3 separate regions of the Homo sapiens genome follow, and regions 2 and 3 are each linked to region 1. The links are contacts of gene promoters, found by promoter capture Hi-C in human tissues and cell types (Jung and others, 2019). All regions are on one chromosome and are shown on one strand. Each heading gives the region's core, a stretch centred on a gene start or on the middle of the fragment in contact. The rest is flanking DNA. Distances are from core to core; before and after follow the strand shown. Region 1 holds the start of GALNT1 (polypeptide N-acetylgalactosaminyltransferase 1). Region 2 has its middle 120 kb from the start of MIR187. Region 3 has its middle 140 kb from the start of MIR187.

Region 1 (4,955 bases), core at 852-3,351:
ATCTTATGGGACCACCATTGTACAGGTGACCCATCATTGACCGGGGCATGGCTGTAAATAGATCCTACAATACAGGCTCTTACACATCTAGCTTCTTCCACTTAGCTTATCGTTTTTGAGGTTCCTCTATGTTGTATCTTCTATGACTACTTCGTTCCTTTTACTGAGTAGTAGTCCACTGTATGGCATATACTGCATTTTATCCACGCAGCAGTTTCTGGACATTTGGACTGTTTCTACTTCTTGGCTATCATGAATAACACTGTTATTAATATTCATGTACAAGTTACTGTATGAATTTATCTTCAGTTCTCTCAGGCATACGCCTAGGAGTGGAATTGTTGGGTGATAGAATACTTCATGTGTAACTTTTTAAAAAACCTGGAAAACTGTTTTCCAAAGTGGCTGCACCATTTTACATTTCCATAGGCAACGTATGAGGGTTCTAATTTCTCCATCTCTTCACCAACACTGCTATTGTCTGTCTGTCTTTTGTACTACAGCCAGTGTAGTGGGTGTCAAGAACTTCCTTGTTGTGCTTCTAATTTGCATTTCCCTATTAACTAATGATGTTGAACACCTTTTTATGTAATTGTTGATCATTTAAATATCTTTGGTAAAACGTCTATTCAATTGTTTTGCCCATTTAAAATTGGACTATTAGTCTTATTACTGAGTTGTAAGAGTTCTTCATACATTCTGGCTACAAGTCCTTTAACAGATATATGATTTGCCAATCTTTTCTCCCAAGATAAGAGTATTTTTTAACGATGACAACTTTATTCCAAAGTGAAGTTTCCTTGTGGAACAGTAACAGGCTAGTCATGATTGACTTTGTTTCAAAATATTATATAAGTACTTTTAAAATAGTAACTTTTAACTTTTATTTTAGAATACTTGGAAGATGTAGACAAGCAAAAACAGGATACTAAAATTCCAGAGATAATCTTCAGGTTTTTTTTTTTTTTTTTCGGACAGCCTTTTGGTTATGTGAGAGGTAATATAAATTTAAAAGTGGGACCACTTAAATATTAAGTAATCTCTTATTGCAGCTCTTGGTTGGCAAGCAATAAGACACAAACCTCTGAATTATTTAAGTAGAAAATTAATTTATTAAAAGAATGGTTGGTTATGCCTCGCGTGAGTGACAGAGCCAGGGTTTTGTCTTCTATCTTCAGGGCAGGGTACAGCTGGGTATTGGAATTGTACCAAGCAGTGTTTCCCAAGGGGGCACAGAGGGAGGGCCCCTCTCCGGGCACTGTGCGGGAGCCACTTCCCCAAACAGTCCCCGTTCTGCAAGGGCCCCGGCGTTGCTGCCCCCGAGACCCGGGTGCCTGCCCCGGCGGTGCGGGTCGCGGGCCTCCGCTCTCGCCGTCCTCCCTCAGTCCCGGGCCTCCTGCATCGCGGTCGCCAGGCGCAGGCTCAGCGCGGCTGACAGCGCTCCAGCTCCCGCGCTCGCGGCCGCCTCAGGCAGCCGACCGGGTTGGGGCGGCCCCGCGCTCGGCCCGGGAGCCGATCCGCTGTGAGGGCTCCTCCATCTCCTCCCACCCCGTGACCTGCTCGACGCGCAACAGCCCGAGTTGTCTTTAACTTGCTGCGGCAGCCTCTTTGTCCCGACCCAGGGTCGGGGGCACCTCTCGGCCTGGCCCGGCCCTGCCCGTAGCCGTGTGAGCGGGGGCCGGGACTGGGCGGTCGGTCCGGGAGGGGCGCCGCGCCCGACCCCGGAGTCCCGAGCCCGAGGGGAGCGTCGCGGCCCCGCGGTGGGCTCGCCGCAGCGGAGGGGGCGCGCATCCGGGTGAGCGCCGGCGCCCCCGCCTCCCCCGCGCAGCCGCACGGGCCGCCGCCGCCGCTGCCGCCGAGCACGCAGCGCAGGGAGGACCGCGCCCGAGCGCCTGCGGGCGCCCTGCGGCGCCCGCCGCGCGACGAGCCCCAAGTGAGCGGGCAGGCGGCGCGCATGCGGGGCGGCCCGGAGTAGCGCCGCCCGAGCCCGCGAGCGGGGCGCCCGGAGTAGCCGCCGACCCGAGCCGGGCGCGGAGGCGGGGGCGGGCGCGGCGGAGCGGGGCCCGGCCGGACCCGCCCGCCCGCCGGGGGAGCCGCCGGCAGTGGCCGAGGAGCGCGCGGCGGACGGCGGCCCGAGAGTAGCGCGCTGGCCGCGGGACCGGCCGCGACCGCCGCGGCCGGCCCGGAGGACGCCTGCCGCCGCCGCCGCCGCGCGCCTAGCGAGGTGAGTGTATCGCCCGCGGCTGGGCAGTCCCGGAGCCGCAGCGCTGCGCGCGGGTCGGAGGTGGAGAAAGAGGCCCCGCCGCGGCCGCGTCCCCGGTCCCTTTGTGGCCGGCGCTGCCTGGGGCCGGGGCGCGGGCACGCTCGGCGCGGGTTCGGGTCTGGGACCCCGGTGCCGTTGGACACGCGGCGTCTCTGGTTGGCAGCTTTGGCGAGCAGCGAGTTTCCGTCCTAGTTTGACATTGAGTTAGAACCGTTTTTCTTTAGAAGACGGAAGTTTGTTTTATTGACAAAAATAAAGCTAAATATGGCTTCTGGGTTCGGCCGTGTGGTACTTGCAACCGCGGTGCCAGCCTGACCCTCGCGGCGCCACGGGGGAGGGGAAGACACGCCGGCAGCGGGGGAGGGGGCTTCCCGGCCCGCTGCCCCCGAGGAGGACCCGGACCTAAATTAGCAAATGTTTGTGGTTGGGAAGTAGCGGGCTTTAGGTAATGTAGTAGCTTTTCCGCTTTTCCTGGAAGAATGAATGAATGAGATGTCATTTACTCATCCATAATCAATACGTTGCCCATTTAAGCATTTACCAGGAATTGGGATGATTTGCATTGTCATTGCTTCTCTTATCTGGTCAGCCTTGCTAGATGAGGTTCCCTTACTCCCCAGATTTGTGACCTTGTCCTCATTCTCAAAGCCACTGAGCTAACCAACCCGTCTACCAAACTCACTTGGCATTTTTTTGGTCAAGTGGGCAATAGGCAAAGTAGTCTTTCTGAACTGTTTCTGGAGGGCAGAGAATGTCACTTTGATCATATCTTATGTTTAATACATTGCTTTATAATCGTGTCAAGAACGCTGAGAGTTAGGAGGTCTTGTCATTTCACAGATGAAATAGTGAAGGCCCTAAGAAGTTGCAACTTTTCAGGTCACAATCTGAGCAGCAGAGTTGGGATTCAAACCTAGACCTTGTTAGTCCAGTCCTCTTTACATCACATCTGTGTCCAGACCTGGACTGTCCAGCGTGGGAGCCACTAACCACATGTGACTATTAAAATTAAATTTTAAAAATTCAGCTCCTCGGTCACAGTAGCCACATTTCAAGTGTTCCATAGCTAAATGTGGTTCTTTGCTACAGTTGAACAGCCCTGGTCTAAATTATACATACATTTGTTGTGTCAGTAAATATTTACTGAATGCGATCTGTCTATGAGGCACAGTTTTAAGTTCTGGGTACATGGTGAATAAGGGAGACACAATGTCCTTGCCCTATTGGAATTGACATTTTACATGATCCTTTGAGGATGTTTCCATGGTACTCCGAGTCCTGCTATTCCAAGTGTGGATGGTGTACCAGCAGCATCCCTGTCACCTCAGACTCAAGTAATGCAGAATGTGAAGCCCCGCTGCACATCAACTGAATCAGTATCTGCTTTACCAGGATTTCAAGTTATTTGTGTGCACTTTGAAACCTGAGAAGCCTTTGTTCAGCGTGCTGGTGATAACTGCGTTTAATGACTGCTCTGCTGGTTTGTTTGGTGCCTCTTAAGCAGCAGACTGCAAAACTCTTGGGAGCACTCACCATTTATGCAAATACTTGTTAAATGCCTGGCTTTCTCAATAGAGTTTAAGCTTTATGAGAGCAGAGATTGTGGCTTCCTTTTCCAGCCATGTATCACTGAAGACTTTACAGTGCCTGGTAAGCAATAAGCACTTGGTATAAATGCTTGTTGGATAAACGAATGAGTGTGCTAGGATACTTAAGCGTGGTTGTTAGCTGGGTGTGGTGGCATGCGTCTGTAGTCCTAGCTATTCCAGAGTGACAGCGCGAGACCCTGTCTCAAAAAACTGAAAACCCAACAACAACAAAACTGATTGTTAATCCCAAGCAGTTACAGGCAAGGTAATTCTCATGACATCAGGTGAGAGAGCATGGGACCAGAGTCAAAATGAAGATAGATCTGTTTGTAACTTTCAGTGGGACGCTCCAGCTACTCTGACTGGAGTTTTGCTCCTGGCTCACTTGCATGCCCTATCCCTCTTTTAACTAATATAATAATAATTTTGAATCTGAATCACACATTAGTGCTTCATATAGTTTTTAAAAAATTTTGTATTTTTTTAGGTAGCTAAATTCCAGACATTATTTGGATTTCACCAGTTTTTCCGTTAATATCTTCTTTCTGTTCCAGAATCCAGTCCAGTGTACTACATTGTATTTTGACATCATGTTTCTTTAATATTTGGTTTGTGATAGTTTCTGTCTTGTCTGGTTTTCCATAACTTTGGTAGTTTTGAGGAATACTGTCCTGGCTTTCTTTGATGGACAGCTTTCCATACTCATTCTCATGAAAGGTCACAATCAGGTTGACGCTGTTTCTGCTTTTACTTATTTATTTATGTAATACATCTGTCATGCTTATGTAACATACAACTTTGGTACTTTTTTTTCAGTAACAGATTTCTTGGATACAGTTCCTAATTGGTTGAGATGCAGAAGAGTGTTATACCATTGCAGTTATATACCAAGTTTTATTTTTTGATGGGTTAAGAGCTGGGCTGAGGTAGAGGAGGAAGGAAAGAGGAGAGATCAGTTAAAAGAGGCAGTTAGGCAAAGAGGGACCAAGGCAAAGGGAGTGACAGATAATGGAGGAAGAGGAGTGCGGCAACTTCGTAGAAGAGAGTTAGGAGTGACTACTTACTGTTTGTTCATTTATTCAATTAATATTTATTGACTCAGC
Region 2 (4,955 bases), core at 844-3,343, 210 kb after region 1:
AGAAATCACGATGAGTGCACTTCTGGCTCAGGGCCCTTGCACTGACTGTTCCCTCTGTCCTGACACTTTTCCCTAGATTTCTGCCTGCCATCCTTCCTCATTTCCTCAGGTATTTGCTCCAGATCTTCACCAGACCATGCTATATAGAAAGCATGCCCCACACTCTGTCACGAACGTGTTTACCTGTTCATTGTCCTCCCCTCACTAGAACATCGTGTGCCTGAGAGCAGAGATTAGGTCTGTTTTGTTCATTTATATATACATATATATATATATATATATATACACATATACATATATATATGCCTGGGGCTTGACACAATAGATATAATAGGTGCTCAAAGTATTTGTTGAATGGACAAATGAGTAAATGAATGAAGTCATTTCAAACCAGTTAGAGGTTTTAAGGGGTGGTACAAGTGTTATTTTCTGGTATTGTGTTGGGAGACCCAAGTCTGTCTCCTCATGGGCTCCTTGAAGGTGATGTGTACACTAGACTCTCAAATCAAAGCAATGGTCTTGGCCTCAAACTTCTACATATTTAATCTTTAATGAGCTCTTCCAGTCCATGGGAAGAGGGTGTAAAGGACTTAGAGCTATAGAACCTAGACTGTGGCTCATAAGTTTCAACTTCCACTAAAAGGAACCAGAGTAGAAAAATGGCTGATTTCATGCCTGGGGCTGAAAGCATACAAGATGAGCCTGGGACACCTTGTCATGCCTGAAAACAAAGAGCTCTTAATGTCTACTAGATTGATGTCAAAATAGACCCCAGAACCAGCCTGAAGAGGTGCCCATTGCCCAAAGACAGGGCCATTTGAATAATGATGGCAGTGTTTTGAAACATACCAAATATATAAAATCTATGAGTTCGTATAGATACTATTTAAAAAATACAAAATAAAACAAAATTAATCAGTTATCTTGGGAAATTGATAAGGTGCAAATTTATTATTCTGGAAATTTATAAAAGGAAGGGAAAAAATTGAGCATTGTTCCTGTTCTTTTCTACAGTCTGTATTTCAAGATAACCAAATAAAGAGAAGAGATAATGTTTCCTCTGTAGAAATCCATTCAAGCTAATAAATGAAGAGGGAAAGAGATGTTTAGAAAATCACCACTTTTCAAATCCCCAGTGAAATAATGGATCTAGGTAGCAATAATTAATGGTTGCTAACCATTAAGTAAAAGTCAATGGAGGATATGATAATGGGTGGATCAGGGTGAAAAACTAAACCCACTGATCAATGTCATAGTCACTGAGGGTGGCAACCAGACTTAGGTGTCTCTCGGGCTGATGCAATCGGAAATACATGGCACCACCTAGGAAGTAATCTTGCATGCATGCATGCACATACACACACACACACAAGCATTAATCTAATAAAGCCTTTGACTAACTCACAGGAGATAGAACTATTGGGGATAGAGGAAGAGATTAACAGACCGTCCCTGGAAGCAGTAAGCCAAATTCAGATATGTGAAAAATTCTGCAGGACAAATGACTCTCTTTCTTCAACAGCCTTATGGTTTTAAAGAAATAGAAGAGGGAAGTGTTAGATCAAAGGAGACTTGAGACAGAGCAGCCAAATGCAGTATGTGGCCCTTGTTTGCATCCTGACTTGAACAAACCAACCTCAAAGTTGTTTTCAAGATAATCAGGGAAGTGAAGATAAGCCAAGTATTAGATACTATTAGGAATTATAATACTTATTTTGTTGAATGTGATGATATTGTGATTAGAGTTTTTAAGGCATTATTTTTAAAACTATATACTGAAGTAGTTGCTCATACAAGTATATGATGTCTAGGATTTGCTTTAAAATACTCCAGCAAAAAATAGAAGTGGGAGAACAGCTGAGACAAGAGTGTTGAAAAGTGGGTCTTTGTGGAAGCAGGTGTGGTCTCTGTGGTTTTACAACCATGTGCCTTCTCCTCCTCATGGGAAGAAGGGCAGATTTGCTTTTTTTAAAAAAAAACTTCCAATTTATCATAGACTAATACTTTTATAAAATACAATAAAAGTGAATTACCAAAAAAATTAAATGATATAAAAAACCAGACATACAAGATGTAAGTCAAAATTTTTCATTGTATTCAACAGACATAAAATTATATTTCAATAAATATAATCAAAACAAACATATCATATAAAAAGAGTAAAGACAAAACTTTTTTTTTTTTTTTTTTTTGGAGGCAGAGTCTCACTCTGTTGCCCAGGCTGGAGTACAGTAGTGCTATCATAGTTTACTGCAGCCTCCAACTCCTGGACTCAGGCGACCCTCCTGCCTCAGCCTCCTGAGAAGCTGGGACTACAGACATGAGCCACCTCACCTGGCCAAGGCAGAAGAGATTTTAAAGCAATTTCAGCAAGCTCAGAATATTCATTTAAAACTGTTATCCAAAAATAAAGCAAATAATGTTATATTTTCAAAATTTGTCTTCAGTCCTTGGTCAGTAGACAGTTTCAATTTATTCTGTAAAGTCACAGTTTCATTTAAATTATCCACATCTATTGATGAAAGAAATAGATTCCAGAACCATAGTTTTCTTATGTGAGCATTGTATCTGATACAAATAAAATTCAAATTTCACAAGTATGCAGGTATACAGTAATAGGCCATCCACTACATTTCTGATTATTGTTGATGAGACAAAACATGTCATAAAAATCTGTAGAAATTCTAATTTTTGGTTTTGCCTTTTGATGTTTTCTTGCATTCCTACCTTACATGAAAATTTAAAGATCATTAAAAATACCTAACAAATACCATATGATCTCACTCATATCTAGAATCTAAAATAAAGTAGAAGCAGAGAGTAGAACAGTGGTTACCAGAGAGTGGGGAGGGGAGAGAGAAGAGGAGAATGTGGAAAGGTTGGTCAATGGGTACAAGGGTACAATAGGCAAGATAAGTCCTAGCATCTATGGCACAGTAGGGTGACCACGGTGAACAGTAAGGTATTGTATATCACAAAATAGCTACAAGAGAGGTTTTTGAATGTTCTTACCATAAAGAAATAAGTACATGAGGTAGTAAACATGCTAAATACACAGATTTGATCATTATACAACACATATGTATCAAAACATCAAATTGTACCTCATAATATGTGCAATTACAAGTGTGTCAATTTAAAAATTAATTAATTAAAAAATAAATTTAAGAGACCTGAGATATCAGAAAAATCAGTAAGTCTGGATGTCCAGTTTACTCTTTAAACACTGGGTCAAATGGATTCCTTATCTTGCGGAAGCGTGATGACTTTGTTCTGTATTTTGTTCCTGACAGACTTCTGCCAAAACGATTGTATCTCAACATGCAGTAAGAGATTATTGTGTTCCACTCACATATTATCACATAAAAGAAGGAAAATCTTTAGTGCATTTGTCTTCATGTAATTCACAAATTCTTGATTCATTACTGGATATACTATTCAGTTCACTGGGGGTCTTTTAGGATTTGTTTTAGTGTTTTTGGTAGCAAGACTTTCTCACGGAATGAAACCATGCATTTGACTTACATTCTGCCACAAACTCCTTAATCTGGATGACTGCTCTCTCTGCTCCAGAATATTCTCCTGTTATTGCAGCTGTCAGAACACAAGAATACTCTCTCCACGCACTTTAAACTCAAAGCCACATTTGTGGACAATGTATTCTTTCATAGGTTGTTGTTGTTGTTGTTGTTGTTGTTTGAGATAGGGTGGTCTTCACTCTGTTGCCCGGGCTGGAGTACAGTGATGTAATCACGGTTCACTGCTGCCTTGGCCTCCCAGGTTCAAATGAGCCTTCCACTTCAGCCTCCCAAGTAGCTAGGACCACAGGTGTGCACCACCACCCTGTTAATTTTTTTAGTTTTTGAAGAGAGAGCGTCCCACTATGCTGTCCAGGCTAGTCCCAAACTTCCAGGCTCAAGGGATCTTCCTGCCTCAGCCTCCCAAAGTGTTGGGATTACAGATATGAGCCACCACACTCAGCCTCTTTCATAGTTTTATGTAGTTCACAGCTAGTTGTGTTGATTGGTAATGGAGCTAAATTCTTCATATCGGCATCGTGTTCAAATTGCACACATACTAGAACTGTACCATTAGCAAACCCACACATTCTTTGAACTGCAGTGAAAAATTCACCAGTTTTATCTGTTCTAAGAGTTGGTTTTCTGTATCACTGGTCAGTTCTTGAGTACATCAAGCTATGTTGTTGAAACATGGGGTTAAAATAACACAGGTTTAAAAATAAATAATTGGACTTTTATTTCTCTAATTTAATAATTTGCTAAACCTAAACCAAACAAGCTTGAATAAAAATTGAAAATAAGAAGTTAGAAAATAAGTAAATGCTTACATTTCTCAGATTTTGATAATTTTGGATTTCAATCATCACACTAAAACTGAAACCATACATGTTGTAACATGTATCTAGCACACAGACTATACCATGCACAATTTGTCATGTAAGTTTCACAAATGCAAACTGGTCCTGCCCTGGAGATGAGTCTAGTGGTCACACACTTGGGTGTCATGGCAGTGTCCGACTGCTGTAGAAGTTACTCAGTGCTTGCTCTAGTTTCCGTACTGATTTTCTCAGGGATCAGGAACAGACTGTGGACAGCATGAGTTCATGGAGCACAGTTTGAGTAGCATGGCATTGTACTATTCTCTGTGCTTTTGAGTGTATATGTTTTTTAATACTGCATAACAAACTATCACAAAATTAACATCTTAAACCCACACACACTTATCTCACAGCTTTCATGGGTTAGGAGTCCAGGTGGGCCTAGCTAGGTCCTTTGCTCATGGTTTCACAAAGCTGCAGTCAAGGTGTCAGTGGGCTGCATTCCCATCTGAAGAATGCAACTTGAAAAGAATGCACTTCAAGCTCCCTCAGGTTTGGAGAACTTCAGCTTCTTACAGTGGTAGGACTGAGGTCCTCAGCTCCTGAGGGCTGCTGC
Region 3 (4,955 bases), core at 1,096-3,595, 180 kb after region 1:
TCTCAAAAGAAGATATACAAATGGCCAACAAGTATATGAAAAAATGTTCAACATCACTAATTATCAGGAAAGTGCAAATCAAAACCACAACGAGGTATTATCTCACCTTGTTTAAAATAGCTTGTACCAAAAAGGCAGGCAATAACAGATGTTGACAAGGATGTGGAGAAAGGGGAACCCTTGTACACTGTTGGTGGGAATGTAAATTAGCACAGCCACTATGGAGATCAGTATAGAGTTTCCTCAAAAAACCAAAAATAGAACTATCACATGATTCAGCAATTCCACTATAGGGTATATATCCAAAAGAAAGGAGGTCAATGTATCAAAGAGATGTCTGCCTTCTAATGTTTATTGCAGCACTATTTACAAAATCCAGAATACAGAATCAACCTAAGTGCCCACTAATGGATGAATGGATAAAGAATATGTACCTATACACAATGGAATATTATTCATCCATAAAAAGAGTGAAATCTTGCCATTTGCAACAACATGGATGGAACTGGAGGCCATTATGTTAAGTGAAATAAGCAAAGCATAGAAAGACAAACACTGCATGTCCTCACTTGTGGGAGCCAAAGAAGAGATCTCATGGAGATGAAGAGTAGATAGGTGGTTACCAGAGGCTGGGGAGGGGGGAGGGGGGAGGGGAGAGGGGAAGGGGGAATGAAGGGGAAAAATAATGTAAATTATTTATCACCACAGAATTTTACACTTAAAATGGTAAAGATGGTGAATTATACATGTATATTTTACCTCAATACACTTTTTTTAAAAAAAAAAGAAAAATCAATTCATCACCAGGAAAGCACAACAATTCTAAATGTATGAGCACTTGAGAATAGAGCTTCAAAATGCAGAAAACAAAAATTGTCAGAATATAAAAGGAGTAGACATGCTGACAATAATACTTGGAGATTGCAACACTCCTTTCTATGTAATATATAGAAATAGTGGCAAGGATAGAATGGAACACTATCAACTAACTTGAATTAAGTCATATTTACAGAACACTACACACTACAACAGCAGACTACACATTCTTTTCAAATGCACATGGAACATTTACAAAGATAGGCCATATTGTGAATAACATATCCAACCTTAAATTTAAAAGCACTGAAATCATACAAAGTATGTTTTCTGACTATAATGGAATTAAACTAGAAATCAATAAGAGAAGGATAACAGGAAAATTTCTAAACAATAAGAAAGCAAACCACACACTTAAAAAAGGGAAATCAGAAAATATATTGAAATGAAAGAAAATAACTATGTAACATATCAAAACTTGTGGGATGTAGCTAAAGTGGGAAGGGAATTTGCTGCATTAAATGATTGTATTACAAAACAAGAAATGTATCAAAACAACAATTTAAGCTTCTGCCATAAGAGACTAGGGAGGAAAAGAGCAAAATAAACCCAAAGTGAACAGGAGGAAGGAAATAATAAACAACAGTGTATTAAGGAAATTGAAGGGGGGGAGGAGCCAAGATGGCCGAATAGGAACAGCTCCGGTCTACAGCTCCCAGCGTGAGCAACGCAGAAGATGGGTGATTTCTGCATTTCCATCTGAGGTACCGGGTTCATCTCACTAGGGAGTGCCAGACAGTGGGCACAGGTCAGTGGGTGCAGCGCACCGTTGCACGAGCCAAAGCAGGGCGAGGCATTGCCTCACTCCGGAAGCGCAAGGGGTCAGGGAGTTCCCTTTCCTAGTCAAAGAAAGGGGTGACAGACGGCACCTGGAAAATCGGGTCACTTCCACCCAAATACTGCGCTTTTCCAACGGGCTTAAATAACGGTGCACCAGGAGATTATATCCCACACCTGGCTCGGAGGGACCTACGCCCACGGAGTCTCGCTGATTGCTAGCATAGCAGTCTGAGATCAAACTGCAAGGCGGCCCCGAGGCTAGGGGAGGGGCGCCCACCATTGCCCAGGCTTGCTTAGGTAAACAAAGCAGTGGGGAAGCTCGAACTGGGTGGAGCCCACCACAGCTCAAGGAGGCCTGCCTGCCTCTGTAGGCTCCACCTCTGGGGGCAGGGCACAGACAAACAAAAAGACAGCGGTAACCTCTGCAGACTTAAATGTCCCTGTCTGACAGCTTTGAAGAGAGCAGTGGTTCTTCCAGAATGCAGCTGGAGATCTGAGAACAGGCAGACTGCCTCCTCAAGTGGGTCCCTGACCCCTGACCCCTGAGCAGCCTAACTGGGAGGCACCCCCAGTAGCGGCAGACTGACACTTCACACGGCCGGGTACTCCTCTGAGACAAAATTTCCAGAGGAACAATCAGACAGCAGCATTCGTGGTTGCCTGATACCCAGGCAAACAGGGTCTGGAGTGGACCTCTAGCAAACTCCAACAGACCTGCAGCTGAGGGTCCTGTCTGTTACAAGGAAAACTAACAAACAGAAAGGACATCCACACCAAAAACCCATCTGTACATCACCATCATCAAAGACCAAAAGTAGATAAAACCACAAAGATGGGGAAAAAATAGAGCAGAAAAACTGGCAACTCTAAAAAGCAGAGCACCTCTCCTCCTCCAAAGGAACGCAGCTCCTCACCAGCAATGGAACAAAGCTGGACAAAGAATGACTTTGACGAGTTGAGAGAAGGCTTCAGACAATCAAACTACAAGCTACAGGAGGAAGTTCAAACCAAAGGCAAAGAAGTTAAAAACTTTGAAAAAAATTTAGACGAATGTATAACTAGAATAACCAATACAGAGAAGTGCTTAAAGGAGCTGATGGAGCTGAAAGCCAAGGCTCGAGAACTACGTGAAGAATGCAGAAGCCTCATGAGCTGATGCAATCAACTGGAAGAAAGGGTATCAGTGATGGAAGATCAAATGAATGAAATGAAGCGAGAAGGGAAGTTTAGAGAAAAAAGAATAAAAAGAAATGAACAAAGCCTCCAAGAAATATGGGACTATGTAAAAAGACCAAATCTACGTCTGATTGGTGTACCTGAAAGTGATGGGGAGAATGGAACCAAGTTGGAAAACACTCTGCAGGATATTATCCAGGAGAACTTCCCCAATCTAGCAAGGCAGGCCAACATTCAGATTCAGGATACTCCTTGAGAAGAACAACTCCAAGACACATAATTGTCAGATTCACCAAAGTTGAAATGAAGGAAAAAATTTTAAGGGCAGCCAGAGAGAAAGGTCAGGTTACCCACAAAGGGAAGCCCATCAGACTAACAGCGGATCTCTCAGCAGAAACTCTACAACCCAGAAGAGAGTGGGGGCCAATATTCAACGTGCTTAAAGAATTTTCAAGCCAGAATTTCATATCCAGCCAAACTAAGCTTCATAAGTGAAGGAGAAATAAAATCCTTCACAGACAAGCAAATGCTAAGAGATTTTGTCACCACCAGGCCTGCCCTAAAAGAGCTCCTGAAGGAAGCACTAAACATGGAAAGGAACAACAAGTACCGGCCGCTGCAAAATCATGCCAAAATGTAAAGACCATCGAGACTAGGAAGAAACTGCATCAACTAATGAGCAAAATAACCAGCTAACATCATAATGACAGGATCAAATTCACACATAACAATATTAACCTTAAATGTAAATGGACTAAATGCTCCAATTAAAAGACACAGACTGGCAAATTGGATAAAGAGTCAAGACCCATCAGTGTGCTGTATTCAGGAAACCCATCTCACATGCAGAGACACACATAGGCTCAAAATAAAAGGATGGAGGAAGATCTACCAAGCAAATGGAAAACAAAAAAAGGCAGGGGTTGCAATCCTAGTCTCTGATAAAACAGACTTTAAACCAACAGAGATCAAAAGAGACAAAGGAGGCCATTACATAATGGTAAAGGGATCAATTCAAAAAGAAGAGCTAACTATCCTAAATATATATGCACCCAATACAGGAGCACCCAGATTCATAAAGCAAGTCCTGAGTGACCTACAAAGAGACTTAGACTCCCACACATTAATAATGGGAGACTTTAACACCCCACTGTCAACATTAGACAGATCAACGAGACAGAGACAGAAAGTTAACAAGGATACACAGGAATTGAACTCAGCTCTGCACCAAGTGGACCTAATAGACATCTACAGAACTCTCCACCCCATAACAACAGAATATACATTTTTTTCAGCACCACACCACACCTATTCCAAAATTGACCACATAGTTGGAAGTAAAGCTCTCCTCAGCAAATGTAAAAGAACAGAAATTATAACAAACTATCTCTCAGACCACAGTGCAATAAAACTAGAACTCAGGATTAAGAAACTTACTCAAAACTGCTCAACTACATGGAAACTGAACAACCTGCTCCTGAATGACTACTGGGTACATAACAAAATGAAGGCAGAAATAAAGATGTTCTTTGAAACCAATGAGAACAAAGACACAACATACCAGAATCTCTGGGACACATTCAAAGCAGTGTGTAGAGGGAAATTTATAGCACTAAATGCCCACAAGAGAAAGCGGGAAAGATCCAAAATTGACACCCTAACATCACAATTAAAAGAACTAGAAAAGCAAGAGCAAACACATTCAAAAGCTAGCAGAAGGCAAGAAATAACTAAAATCAGAGCAGAACTGAAGGAAATAGAGACCAAAAAACCCCTTCAAAAAATTAATGAATCCAGGAGCTGGTTTTTTGAAAGGATCAACAAAATTGATAGACCGCTAGCAAGACTAATAAAGAAAAAAAGAGAGAAGAATCAAATAGACACAATAAAAAATGATAAAGGGGATATCACCACCGATCCCACAGAAATACAAACTACCATCAGAGAATACTACAAACACCTCTATGCAAATAAACTAGAAAATCTAGAAGAAATGGATAAATTCCTCAACACATACACTCTCCCAAGACTAAACCAGGAAGAAGTTGAAATCTCTGAATAGACCAATAACAGGCTCTGAAATTGTGGCAATAATCAATAGCTTACCAACCAAAAAGAGTCCA

Evidence for each region. The method cuts DNA at HindIII sites, captures the fragments that hold promoters and counts their contacts. A contact is called where the count stands out against the background at its distance.
Region 2: a contact is called between a fragment that was not itself captured here and the fragment with the promoter of GALNT1 in region 1, in 2 of the 25 tissues and cell types used here (mesendoderm cells and thymus).
Region 3: a contact is called between a fragment that was not itself captured here and the fragment with the promoter of GALNT1 in region 1, in 1 of the 25 tissues and cell types used here (mesendoderm cells).

The regions. Positions count from the first base shown.
Region 1 is chr18:35,579,639-35,584,593 of GRCh38, forward strand. GALNT1 (polypeptide N-acetylgalactosaminyltransferase 1) reads left to right here and starts at 2,102. Exons shown (of 12, transcript NM_020474.4): 1 at 2,102-2,224. RefSeq lists a silencer at 1,144-1,843. The HindIII fragment of the contact is 13,517 bases long and covers 1-4,955 here.
Region 2 is chr18:35,785,254-35,790,208 of GRCh38, forward strand. No RefSeq gene overlaps it. Among named protein-coding and RNA genes, the nearest start is that of MIR187, 120 kb to the right of the region's middle. The HindIII fragment of the contact is 7,347 bases long and covers 1-4,955 here.
Region 3 is chr18:35,758,827-35,763,781 of GRCh38, forward strand. No RefSeq gene overlaps it. Among named protein-coding and RNA genes, the nearest start is that of MIR187, 140 kb to the right of the region's middle. The HindIII fragment of the contact is 3,837 bases long and covers 428-4,264 here.